Regions from separate parts of the Homo sapiens genome. Here regions 1, 2 and 4 are each linked to region 3. The links are contacts of gene promoters, found by promoter capture Hi-C in blood cells and fetal thymus (Javierre and others, 2016). All regions are on one chromosome and are shown on one strand. The core of a region is centred on a gene start or on the middle of the fragment in contact, and the rest is flanking DNA. Distances in the headings are between cores, read along the strand shown.

The links. Contacts are between HindIII fragments. The CHiCAGO score rates a contact against its expected background, and 5 or more counts as called.
Region 1: a fragment that was not itself captured here is called in contact with the fragment with the promoter of ZNF202 in region 3 in 1 of 17 cell types (total B cells); the score reaches 5.1 in total B cells.
Region 2: the fragment with the promoter of EI24 here is called in contact with the fragment with the promoter of ZNF202 in region 3 in 1 of 17 cell types (activated CD4 T cells); the score reaches 5.3 in activated CD4 T cells.
Region 4: a contact is called between a fragment that was not itself captured here and the fragment with the promoter of ZNF202 in region 3, in 1 of 17 cell types (naive B cells). The highest score is 6.0, in naive B cells.

Annotation. Positions count from the first base shown.
Region 1 is chr11:124,859,063-124,862,057 of GRCh38, forward strand. No RefSeq gene overlaps it. Among named protein-coding and RNA genes, the nearest start is that of ROBO3, 4.9 kb to the right of the region's middle. The HindIII fragment of the contact is 1,449 bases long and covers 584-2,032 here.
Region 2 is chr11:125,568,195-125,571,400 of GRCh38, forward strand. It overlaps EI24 (EI24 autophagy associated transmembrane protein), which reads left to right and starts at 1,283. Exons shown (of 11, transcript NM_004879.5): 1 at 1,283-1,379. It overlaps STT3A-AS1 (STT3A antisense RNA 1), which reads right to left. Exons shown (of 4, transcript NR_132372.1): 3 at 2,096-2,248. RefSeq lists enhancers at 947-1,448, 1,951-2,000 and a silencer at 951-1,510. The HindIII fragment of the contact is 1,677 bases long and covers 291-1,967 here.
Region 3 is chr11:123,740,144-123,743,124 of GRCh38, forward strand. It overlaps ZNF202 (zinc finger protein 202), which reads right to left and starts at 1,517. Exons shown (of 9, transcript NM_003455.4): 1 at 1,406-1,517; 2 at 274-393; 3 at 1-49. RefSeq lists enhancers at 903-1,112, 2,102-2,699 and silencers at 1,293-1,422, 1,463-1,512. The HindIII fragment of the contact is 6,844 bases long and covers 1-2,981 here.
Region 4 is chr11:124,955,803-124,959,101 of GRCh38, forward strand. All of the region lies in intron 2 of CCDC15 (coiled-coil domain containing 15), which reads left to right. Among named protein-coding and RNA genes, the nearest start is that of CCDC15, 3.2 kb to the left of the region's middle. The HindIII fragment of the contact is 1,387 bases long and covers 1,070-2,456 here.

The DNA.
Region 1 (2,995 bases), core at 58-2,557, 1.1 Mb after region 3:
GGGCATCAGGGCATACTCCTGTAATCCCAGCTGCTCAAAAGGCTGAAGCAGAAGAATCGCCTGAATCTGGGAGGCAGAGGTTGCAGTCAGTCGAGATTGAGCCACTGCAGCCTGGGCAACAGAGTGAGACTCCACCTCAAAAAAAAATGTATATATATATATATAAATGCACATACTTCTTGCTATGTAACTTTAAGCAGTTACTTAAGTAAAGTTACTTTACTTGCTGTGCTTTCTTAGGCATAATTTTCTTATCTGAAAACTGGAAATAATAGTACCCACCTCGCAGCGTTCCTATGAGCATTACATGAGATTATGCCTGCAAAGTGCTCAGATTTTTCTCATTCCTGGTAGCTTGCACATCCAGAACTATGTCTGGCCCACAGTGGGTACCTGGTGAACATCTGCTGAATGAAGAAATTAATAAAACCACTCAATAAACATTAGCTGTTGTTAGTTATTATTTGCCTCTATAATTTCACTTTTTACAATTTATTCTACAGCTAGAGATGTGTGTAAAGATATAGGTGTAGTATGTTTATTAGTAGCATTGTTTGTAAAACAAAAAGCCAGAAACAACCTAAGCTTCCATAAATAGGGGACTGATTACAAATGTACAATAAACCTATGCAATGGAATATTAGCCAGCCAGTAAAGTAAAAAAGATGGAGATACATGAACTGATAGAAAGAGATGCCCTAAAAATATCGATGGGTTAAAAAAGGCAAGTTGCAGAACAGTACAAATAATCTGAGACAAAGGTCTCACTGTGTTGCCCAGGCTGGTCCTGAACTCCTGGGCTTAAGTGATTCTCCTGCCTCAGCCTCTCAAGTAGCTGGAACTACAAGCCTGTGCCACTATGCCTGGCTAATTTGTACTTTAAAAGAATAGAGAGGATGGGCACAGTGGCTCGTGCCTATAATTTCAGCACTTTGGGAGGCCAAGGCAGGTGGATTGTCTGAGCTGAGGAGCTCAAGACCAGCCTGGGCAACATGGCAAAACCCCGTGTCTACCAAAAAAATTTTAAAAAAATTAGCCGGGTGTGGTGGTGCACGCCTATGGTGCCAGCTATTCGGGAGGCTGAGGTGGGAGGATCGCTTGCACCTGGGAAGTGGAGGTTGCAGTTAGTGGAGATTGTGCCACTGCACTCCAGCCTGGGTGACGGAGTGAGACCTTGTCTCAAAAAATATATTAATAAATAAAATAAAAGGAATAGAGATACATATGCTTATATATGCTTTTTAAAAAGAATCAGAAAGGACACACAAGAAACCACGGGTAGCTACCCAGGCAACTGGATCTGTAGGATAAAGAAGGACTTGATGGAGTGAGGACTTAGACTTTTCATCTTACACTTTCTTATACTGCTTGAATATGTTTGCCTGAACATGCATTATGATTATCATTACAAGAATATTTTAAAAACTCAAATAATAGGGCCCTGGGGGAGTATCAGGAATATGGAGAGAGCAGAAGAGGAAGGAAATACAGGAAAATAAGGTATACTAAGTTAAATGTGTTGTCCCCCCTAAAAAAGTCCTACTCACCCAAAACTTCAGAATGTGACTTCATTTGAAAATGAGGGTTTTTGCAGATGTAATTAGTTAGGGTGAAGTCATGCTGGATTAAATTGGACTCTAATCCAATGACTGGTGGCCTTATAAGAAGAGGTAAGAGACACCGAGACACACACCCAGGGAAGGCCATAAGAAGACAGAGGCAGAGATGGAGTGATGAATCCTCAAGACCAGGAAGGCCAAGCACTGCTGGTAATCAGCAGATGCTGGAGGAGGCAAGAACAGATCCCTCCCTGGAGCCTTCAGGGAGAGCATGGCCCAGCTGACACCTTGATTTCAGGCTTCTAACCTGTGAGAGGATACATTTCTGTTGTTTTAGGCCACCTAGTTTTTGGTACTTTCTTACAGCAGCTGTAATGCAAAAGGAGAGAGAGAGAAGGCTAGTGGGCTCTGCAGGGGTAGTTGTGAGGACTAACTATTTAATCAGGTATAGTCACCAAGTGTATATTTATGGAAGCTTGCTCTGTATCTAGTTTTATAAAAAGAACCAAGAAAGCTCTTTTTCTCCCTGGACTTTGTTTTATCTGTATTGGGATGTGAACATTTCTGCCCAGTTGTCTCCAGATTTCCAGTCTTGGTAGAGTGTGTTGCAAAGTGTCTCCCCACAGTCTCCTCCACTGGAACCCTGTGGGGAAAGGGGGACTTTCATGCAGGGGGCCTTGGCTTATTATCTCAGCAGCTATAGGGGTTGAGCCAACACACTCTGGCTCCTGCCGGGGGCAGGCTCCTGCTGTCTGCTTTCCAGCTGGGTGCCTGCTCTTTGCTCTCTGATTCCCCCTCCTGTTTGGTTCTCTGGCCCCTGCTGGCTGGGTCGCTGCCCCCTGGCATCATCACTCTGAAGCCAGCAGCCCTGCTGGGCCATTCACAGGCATACCCTAGTGGGGGTAAGGGGCAGATGTTATTTCTTTGTCCCCCTCCCAGCAAACACACACACACACACACACACACACACACACACACAATCTCACACTCAATATGTATTAATGTCCTGGGAAGGGGTCCAGGCAGAGAGTGATGGCAGGCTACAGGCTCTGGGGGGATGCAAATGGACCGGACAGTGTGTGTGTACATTGGGGGGAGGCAGTGGTAGTAATGGGGGGTTGTCTTCAGACTGCACTCCTGGGCAATTACATGCCAGCAGCTTCATCCACTACCAGCCGGCATGCAGGCTTTAGACCACCAAGAAGCCTCCCCATATGGCCCCAGCTTGGCCACTGAAAATTCCCAGCCACATTCTCTGGCCGATATGCTGGCACTAGGCCAAGAAAGTTAGCCTGGGGTAGCTGTTCTCTCCCCTAGCACGTGAACACACACACACACACTCACACACCAGTGGGGGGTGGGATGGAGAGTTCCTTTAGAGGCTCATGATTCCCAAAACACCACTCTTGTGTAGGGTTCCTGCCTTACTCATAATC
Region 2 (3,206 bases), core at 33-2,532, 1.8 Mb after region 3:
GAATGGCGTGAACCCAGGGGGCGGAGCTTGCAGTGAGCCGAGATCGCACCACTGCACTCCAGCCTGGGAGACAAAGACAGACTCAGTCTCAAAAAAAAAAAAAAAAAAAGATTTCCTCCCATGAAGTAAGCCAGAATAAACTCATACCTACTAAATTCTTTCTAAAATCTTTTCTAAATTGACACTCTTGAGAAAGAATAGAGCTTGGAGGAAGAGCTATTATTATAATTAATAGCACAATAATCAGTTTGTCATTAAACCACTTAGGTCTCTTTGTAACAAGATTTCTAAGCTTTAGTAGATGGATTCCTTATTCTATTCTATTTTATATTGTTTTGTTTTGTTTTATTTTATTTTATTTTTCGAGACAGTCTAGCTGTGTCACCCAGGCTGAAGTGCAGTAGTGCGATCTCGGCTCACCGCAACCTCTGCCTCCTGAATTGAAGTGATTCTCATTCCTTAGCCGACCAAGTAGCTGGGACCACAGGTGTGTGCCACCATGCCCAGCTAATTTTTTGTATTTTTAGTAGAGACGGGATTTCACCATCTTGGCCAGGGTGGCCTCAAGTGATCTGCCCGCCTCAGCTTCCCAAAGTGCTGAGGTTACACGCATGAGCCACCGTGCCCAGCCACTTATTTTATTTCATTTTTTAAATTTATTATTATTATTATTATTTTGAGACTGAGTCTTGCTCAGTCGCCCAGGCAGGAGTGCAGTGGTGTGATCTCGGCTCACTGCAACCTTCATCCCCTGAGTTCAAGTAATTCTCCTGCCTCAGCCTCCTGAGTAGCTGGGACCACAGGCAGGTACCACCACACCTGGCTAATTTTTGTTATTTTAGTAGAGATGGGGTTTCGCTATGTTGGCCAGGCTGGTCTTGAACTCCTGACCTCGTGATCTGCCTGCCTTGGCCTCCCAAAATGCTGGGATTAAAGGCATCCTGTTACTAATTTCACAGGATTTTAGAAACGCAAGCAGCGTTGTGGAGTCAATGGGGGAGGGCAAAGAACAGGAGGAGAGATCTGTGAGAACGGGATCGGCGAGGAGGCGACGGGGAGGAGGCGACGCGGAGGGGTGAGGGGTCCTCTCCGCCGCCAGGCGGAGTTGGGAGCCGGACGATCCCGCACGCAGCGCGAGGCGGGACCCCGGACTGACTACATTTCCCAGTCTCCGTCGCTCCGCGCGGCCCACCCCTTCGGCTCTGGGCCCCGCCTCGTGGTGCCGGCTGGTTCTTCGCGCTCGCCCGACTTCCCAGCGGCCCCGTGCGGCCCGGGCATGCCCAGTGCGGGCGCAGCGGCCCCGGCCCTGGAAGCGCCCCGGCGGAGCTGGCCTGCGGTGGGCTAGGGGCAGGGCCGGAGCCGCGGCGGCGGAGCTGTGGGTAGGTGCGGGCTCAGCCGAGCTAGGCCTCGGGGCCGCCGCGCCGCCCATTCTGAGTGGCAGGGACCGGGAGGGCAGGCAGGGCCCGAGCGTGGGTTGGTGGGGCTACCGGCGAGGACCCCTTATGGGAAGGGGCCGGAGGGAGCGGGACGGGGCCGGGCACATCCCCGGGCGAGGCTGCCCCAGGTGCGGCGCAGCTATCTTTAGCTCCCTGTGTGACCCGGAGCGTGCGTGATCCGCACCTCGCGTGATCCGTACCTCGTGCACAGTTGTGCCTAGGGAGACCAGTTTTCTGCCGAATTGCCTAGGAGCTGTGGGGAGATGGGCCTGAATGGACCCGTGGACTCAGAGGCAGCCCGTGGAGCCCCGTGGGAAGTGAGGATGTTTACCTTCCCTGTACCTGGAGTGGGCTACGACAGCTTCCTGTTTGCCGAGACTTGGGTTTAGTGACTTAGAAATAAAAGTGTGTCTCAGCAGATGCTTATTAGCTTCTAATGACTGTTGGGAATTTAATGGCATTTGTATTTCCAGGTTTGAGAGGTTATTTGTCCATGGGATGCTCGTGTTAAAACAAAAATCTTCATTGCAAAGCTTAAGTAAAAACAAGTCTCGACCGAGGTAACGTTAGAACACCGGGTTCTGAGGTTCACTGTAGCTGCCATTCATTTGCTGTCAGTCTGGGCAAGTCATTTAACTTCTGAGACTGGGTTCTCTCACCTGTTAAATGAGCCAGATGCATCTTCATCTGTCTAGCTCAGCTGTAGGATTCCCCCTGTGTCATTCAGTCTGTGTGTGTGTTCTCAAATTGTGGCAGGTTATTTTTCCCCATGCCTCAGCTATTTGTCAGACTGGGTAATTCACCAAATATTCCTGTAGGAAGGATGTTAGGATCTAAGTATAAAAGTGAAGTGATTTATCCTTCATAGGTCACTCTTAGGAGGTGTCCTGCCACTTGGTACATGCAGAAACCAGGTGTTAGCTGGCCAGGGATCAAATGACACAGCTGTTGTGGACTGAGACAGAATGTTTCAGGTTCCCTGTCAGTTCCCTGTGAGAAATCCAGGCCAAGTAATGGGCTTCCTTAAACCTCCAAGCTGGCTCACTTTGGTGGGGTTGTGTTTATATAGAATTTTAAGTTTTTTTCATGCTGTTGTGCCCTATTAGATGCAAGAAACCTATGAAGAAGTTTAGTACCCTTAATTTATAGATGAGCCAGTGGCAGGTTACGGGAGTGGATCTGTGAGTCTTTACAAACTAGTGTCGTGCATATCACTGAGCCTTTGCTAGTTATCTAGCTCAGCTGCCCTCACCTCAACCCTGAGAACATGTCTGTATGGCTGTACCTACGCGACTGGAACTCTGAGGTGTTTGTTTTCAGGAGGAAACAGTGGGAGTATTAACAGAAGTTTCTTACCCTAGAGACTTCTATCCGAAGTGAGCCTATCTGTGTAGGATTTGACCTAAGGAGCAGAGGGTATATACAATGTTGGGCAAATTGCCTTCCTACTGCCATATCCCCTGCTCTTCCAGTTCTGAATGGCATTAGTCCAGTTGGGTCAATGAGGAGCAGTTTGGTGAAGTGGTTAAAGGTCGGGGAAAGTGTGCTTATATTTTGAAATTTAAGGTTTGTACAAGCTGCTTGTGAAATTCTGTCTTTGTATTATGGTCATACCTCTTAAACTGAGAATACTGCAACTTGATTGAGTGAGTGTTGAGAACTTTAGAATATCAGGTTCTTAAAAAATGCCTGAAAGTGGGTTTTCTATTCATCTTAGAAGTCACCACAGATTAAATGAGAGAATAGTATATTAATTACAAGTATTTCTCA
Region 3 (2,981 bases), core at 267-2,766:
GTCCCTCACATTGTGGTAAACCTTGTTGTACCCTTGGAATGATTGTCTACTGCAATATAGTATATACACAGAGTACAAAAAGGGTATAGCTGGAGGAGAAAGGGTGAAAGATTATGAATCCCAGGCGTTTGGTCCTAGGAGGAAAAATTCCTGTCCTCTCTCCAACCCTGCCCACCCTCTTATGCTAGATAGTAACAGCAGAAAGTTATCCCAGACTGCTCCGCGTTCACACGCTTCCCACCAACAAACCTCCTCCCAAGGCTATCCCACAACCTTTCTGAAGTAGCTTCCTGGATCAAGCCCCACGGGGCAGCTTGGAAGAGAAGCTGGGAGGGATGAGGGGCTCCACTAGCATTCCTTGTGGCTTCTGAGTGTAGCTGCCCTGGGTGTCACCTGCAGAGCGTGGATAGAGAAAAAGCAACAGTTCTAAGCCCAGCCTCTAATTGAGAGCCTGGGATCTAGCGCTGCTCCCCAGGACCAAGGTTGTTCAAGAAAGGCTGGGTCTAAGAGTCTCCCTCTGGGGAGGTCAGTACAGATTCCAAGGCAGACAGGGTTATCAAAGCGCCTAGAAGATGAGAACATTCATTGTTCAGAAAAACAAAAATTAGACTGACACCTTTCTGAAGGAACACAGCCTATCCATGGCACAAAAACAAATTTTTAATCAAGACACTCAAGAAGTAGGTATACTCCTGCTAAAAGTAACGCAGGTGCTGAGAAGAGGTGCCAAAACTGGCTGTTAGGAGTGGGAGGAGAGGAAAGTTGCAAGTGGAGACAGCAGCTACTGGCTTGAGGGGACCTCAGGGTCTGTCACAGTGGCAGCTGAAAAGCCTCTGGCCAAATGGACGCCAAGGACTACTATCATCACAGGTGACAAGATCACGGGTGAGTGTATCTGGGTGTGTGCTGGGGGGCTGAGGGGGGCTTGGTGGTGTAAGGAGATGGGGCTAGCCGGGGCAAGGAGCCCGCGGAGATGATCTTAAGCAATCTGAGAGGAGGGGTAAGAAAAAGCTGCGGAAAATAAAGGGGCCTAGACCACTCCTCCCTCGGTTCCGGGGGGACAGTTGGCGCGGAAGCGTTAGGAGGTACGAGGTACGGACTAACTACATTTCTGCAGGCCCCAGGAGGGGGCGGAGGGCGGTGGCTGGAAAGGAAAGGAAGCCGGGAGCGCCATCCGTGTCCCCGGAGATACTGGCTCCGGCCACCAGGAAACACAGAGACCACAACGTCTCGGCACCCTCAGTACACCGCCGCCACCCCTTCCCCAGGACACGGCGATTTCCCCAGACTCTGGGGGGCGGGGTCTCCGGTCCCTCCCCCTCCTCCCCGCCCTGCCCGGCTCTGCCCGATCTGGTCCGGCCCGGTCCAGCCCGGCCCGGCCCAGCCCAGCCCACTCAGGACTCACGGCTCCGACAGCTCCGGCGGCTCCTCCCCTGCCCCGGCTTCTCTCCCACCCACTCCCGACCGAAACAGCGCCGCCGGATCCGAGCCGCGCGGGGCCTAGCGGGTCGGAACACGTGGGGCCTTTGCGCCCGGAACCGGAAGCGATCGCTCGCCCCGCCTTCTCGCCGAGTAGGAGCCTTTCTAGGCTGTGGGAGGTTTGATCCTCTCTATGCGCCCTCCGCGGGTTGCGGCTCAGTGCTCCCCAAGGACCCAGTGCGAAGAAGCCTCGGACCCCACAGCTGCCGTCCGCGACCCCTAACTCCACTCTGCAGCGAATAAATTAACATCTTGGGCCTTTCATTTACAGGCATACCTTCTGCAAGGGTTTTCTTTTTCTTTTCTTTTTTCTTTTCTGTTTTTGATCTTTTGTGTGTTTGTTTTCATTTGGATACCTCTACGTGTTTTTCTTGATTTTTTTTTCTTTGCATTGTCCGCTGCAACATGGTAGAAAAGGGCAGCGTTAGGTTTGAATACTGGCTCTTGCAGTCACCATCAGCAGCAGGGCCTCGGCCGAATCTCTCCATCTTTGAACCCTATTGTGCATCATATAAAACGGGCATAATAATACCGTTACTCTGAGGACTAAATGATACATTGCACATGAACTGAATGGAACATCAGAAGCTCAGAAAGAAAATAGTTATGGTATCACTGTTCTTTCTTTTCCTTTGAGTGTTGCTTCGTATTTCTTTACTTTCAGGCTGTCTTCCCTGATCTCATTTGTTCATTTTTGTCCGTTCGGTGACCTTTCTGCCCATACTTGACATTTTCCTTTGCTCTCTGTCCCTTTTACCCTGTAAGTCACCACTCTCCACGTGCCATGTGCCACTTCCTTTTCATGGGACACATTGCTGGGATCTGTTTACTGGGTTTGAACCAAAGGATTAGTTACTTTTGGTGGAGTGGCAGTGTATTAGCGAAACAGAACTAATAGGTGTGAACCCAGAAGGCAGGACAACTCAAAGCGGGGAGGGGGCTTCCAGGTCATAGGTAGATAAGACACAAATGGTTGCATTGAGTTGCTGATTAGCCTCTCCGGAAGGAGGCAATCAGATATGCATTTATCTCAGTGAGCAGAGAGGTGACTTTGAATAGAAGGGGAGGCAGGTTTGCCCTAAGCAGTTCCCAGCATGAATTTTCCCTTTAGTGATTTTGGGGGCCCCAAATCACTTTCCTTTCACACGGGGTATGTATAAACATATAAAAGGAGATTTATTATAAGGAGTTGGCTTACATAATTATGGACGTTGAGAAGTCCCACCATCTGCTTACTGCAAGCTGGAGAAATAAGGAGGTTGGTGGTATAATTCAGTCTAAAGCTGAAGGCCTGAGAACTGGAAAGGGATTGAGGTGCTGGTGTCTGAAGGCCAGAGAGCAGGAGGAGATGATGTCCCAGCTCAAGAAGAGAGAGGTGAATTTACTTTTCCTCTGCCTTTTTATACTATTTGGGCCCTCAATGGATTGGATGGTGCCTACGCATAGTGGTGAGAGTGATTTTCTTTACTCAGTCTACTGATTCAAATGCTAATCTCTCTCTC
Region 4 (3,299 bases), core at 513-3,012, 1.2 Mb after region 3:
ATGTATATTCATTGATTTATTCCTACCCTGCCTATTTCCAAAAAGGATTTTAAGAGTCTAGGTGGTATCTCTATCTAAGTTCTAAGAATATAATGCTCAATCAAGAAGCTATGACGTTGGGTTGATGTGACCCAGGAAAGTGTAATGAAGAATTTGATCGGAGAAGGGAAGGGAATGATTCTCCTATTAAGGAGAATGAGGAGAGTAAGAAGTAAGCAAGGTTCAGGATTCTAAGGGTAGATTAGATCGATTGGAGTGGAAAGCTTAGTAGGAGAATGGTTGCTGACAGGATTATGGAAAATAGGGATGGTAGAGTACCTTAGGAAATTTTGGAGAAGGGATTGACTTTGTTTAATATTTACAGGTGAATGTCATGATCAACCAGTGTTTTCTTTAGATGAATTGCTTCAAAGGTTTTGAAGGATAGGGAGTGATTGGATCCTGGGGATAAATTAGAATATAATTATAATAATTTAAGCATGGAGTATAGCATCGAAACTTTGTTAGTGGTAAGAAATAGAGAAGAACAGCCTTGAAAAAGGATGATTGAAGTGCTTGAGCCCACGAATTGTAGGCTGCAGTGAACTATGATCATACTACTGCACTCTAGCCTGGGCAATAGAGTGAGACCCCATCTCTGGAAAAAAAAAAGGAGTGGAATGAGAAGGGATGAATGCAGGAAACACCCCACAAGACTTGGTAAGATTTGGTATAAAGATATTTTGGTATTTAAGTTGTTGACACCTCTTTGTAATTGCTCAAATTACATCTGTATAATATCAGTAGTGTCAACATGCCTAAAATTTGACACCATCAAACTTTTTCTATGTTAAGAAGTATTGACTATCGTATTCACACACATTAACTCAAAATATTAAAGTCTTGGAACATGGATAAACATATCTCCTTTTCCTGATTTAAAAATTTCTGATCAGTTCCAGCCAAAGGGAGTTTGATCAAGCATCTAATAGAACTCCTTATAGCTTTAGCATATCTAGTCTGGGTATCCACCCTTATTAACGGATATAGCTCTGTCAGCTCAAAATAAATGCTGAATAGTTACTTCTAAAGCTTGGCCCTTAGATCATGTCTGTTCTAAAGGGGAACTTCTACTCATTTTTCTCCCCAAAATTTCAGGGGGCCATCAGGATTCCTAAAAATGTCATAGCTTTAGACTACCTCCCCCCAATAATTATTAATAAATTAGCATCAAAAGACACTGCTGTTCTATCATCATATATGGGATTGCATTATTTTATAATTTGTTCTGGTTACCTTTTGCTGTGTAACCAACCACCCCAGAACTTAGTGGTATAAAGCAAATAATACTATGTAACAGGAATTTGAGCAGGGTACAGTGGTAATGGCTTGTTTCTGCCCCATAGTGTCTGGGACCTCAGCTGGGGCTCAAATAACTGGACATGTCTGAGACACCTTGACTATTTTCCGGCTATTGGCTGGAGCTAGACAATAGTCAAGTTCTCCCAGTAATGTGGCACCTGCTGGGCTGTAATGTCCAAGATGGCTTTCTTATTCACATATCTGACGCTTGGCCTAGGATGACTAGAATGTCTGGGTGCTGGTTAGATATGTTTCTCTTTTCACATGGCTTCTCTGTTTGACTAACTTGGGCTTCCTCACAGCATGGTAATCTCAGGGTAGTCTGAATTTTTATATGGTGCTGACTTCCTTCAGAATGAGCACTCTAAGAACAGAGGTGGAAGTTTCTTTATGACCTGGCTTGTAATCTTGTGGAGTAAAAGAGGAGCAGAGAAAATGGAGGTAAAAGAAAGAGGCCGAATGGCTTAAACTTGTCTGGGGCTTGAGTTAAGCTGGGTCAGTTGTTCAGGCTTCATTACGTATATATCTCTCCGTTGGAATTATTTTACCTAATTGTTCTTTGACACTTGTACACTCCACTAGAGTAGTTTATGGGATAGACATCTTGGAAATTTTAACTTAAATTGAAATTTGAATGCATTTGATTTTGAGAATTTAATGACAGCCTGTAAAATGATCTGAGGTACCCTTCAGAATTAGAAGTTGGAATCACTGAGTTAGAAGGAATAGGTACGAGATATGATGATGATTTTATTTAATTTGAAAATTCCTAGTGAAAGAGAGACATAGTCAAGAGAAAAGCAGTGTAGAGAGGAACATAATTGTTGGAGTCAGAAACTTCTAATTCTGCTACTAGTTAGCTATATTAAAATTACTTAATCTTTCTGAACTCCAGCTTCCTCATCTGTAACATAAGGGATAAGAATACCTACTGCCAAAGGTGGTTTTGAGGATAGAGTGCTACAAAGTAGTTAAAATACTTGTCACCTGATAGATCCATAATAATGATAAGTGCTGTTATGATGATGACTATGATTATTATTCAAAGCACTTAGAGGAGATAAATGCAGATCAAGAACTCAAATGGGATAAAGTGTTCCAGATTGTTCAGAACAAGCTTGTCCAACATGCGGCCATGGGCCACATGTGGCCCAGGATGGCTTTGAATGCGACCCAATGTAAATTAATAAATTTTCTTAATTAACACTATGAGTTTTTTTGTGATTTTTTTTTTTCTCATCAGCTACTAGTGTTAATGTATTTTATGTGACAGTTCTTCCAACATGGCCCAGGGAAGCCAAAATATTGGACACCCCTGGTTTAGAATATGTTTTGGAATTGAGCAATTATATAAATATATATTGACTACCCTTATAGTGAAGGCTCTGTACTAGATGCCGTAGGGGAAATAAAGGAGAATTGAATACATATCCTGTCCTCAAAGAGTTCATAATCTAGTAGGGGAGTCAAGAAGTACTATACTCAGTTAACATTGGTGAAATGAGAGGTGTTATAGCATAAGAGGGCTTAGAGAGAGAGTGTTGTGGAAGGTACTGGGGAGTGGGTATTAAATGGTTGTGAAAACTGAATAGGCCTTTACTAGGTGGAGATGAAAGGAAGGGCATGCCAGGTTAAAAATGGAGCATAATGCCAAATATGAAGACATTTTAACAATAGGACATATTTGGTGAGTGGTAAGTAACCTGGTGTGTCTTGACTATTTACTCCATTTTAGAAAATGTGTAACGTGTTAGGTTTTATTTGGTTCATTAAGATTTAATGAAGACATCGTTAGTTCTAATTCAATAAAAAATTTAAGATTTGATACTCATACATTCCATTTTTTTTTGTACAGAATGGAATTATTTTTTTCAGGATTGTATCCTTATCCTGACTGTTTTGTGTTTAAAACAGCCCTAATGGACAAAACTGCTAACATTTAAGTTCATTTTCTGTCT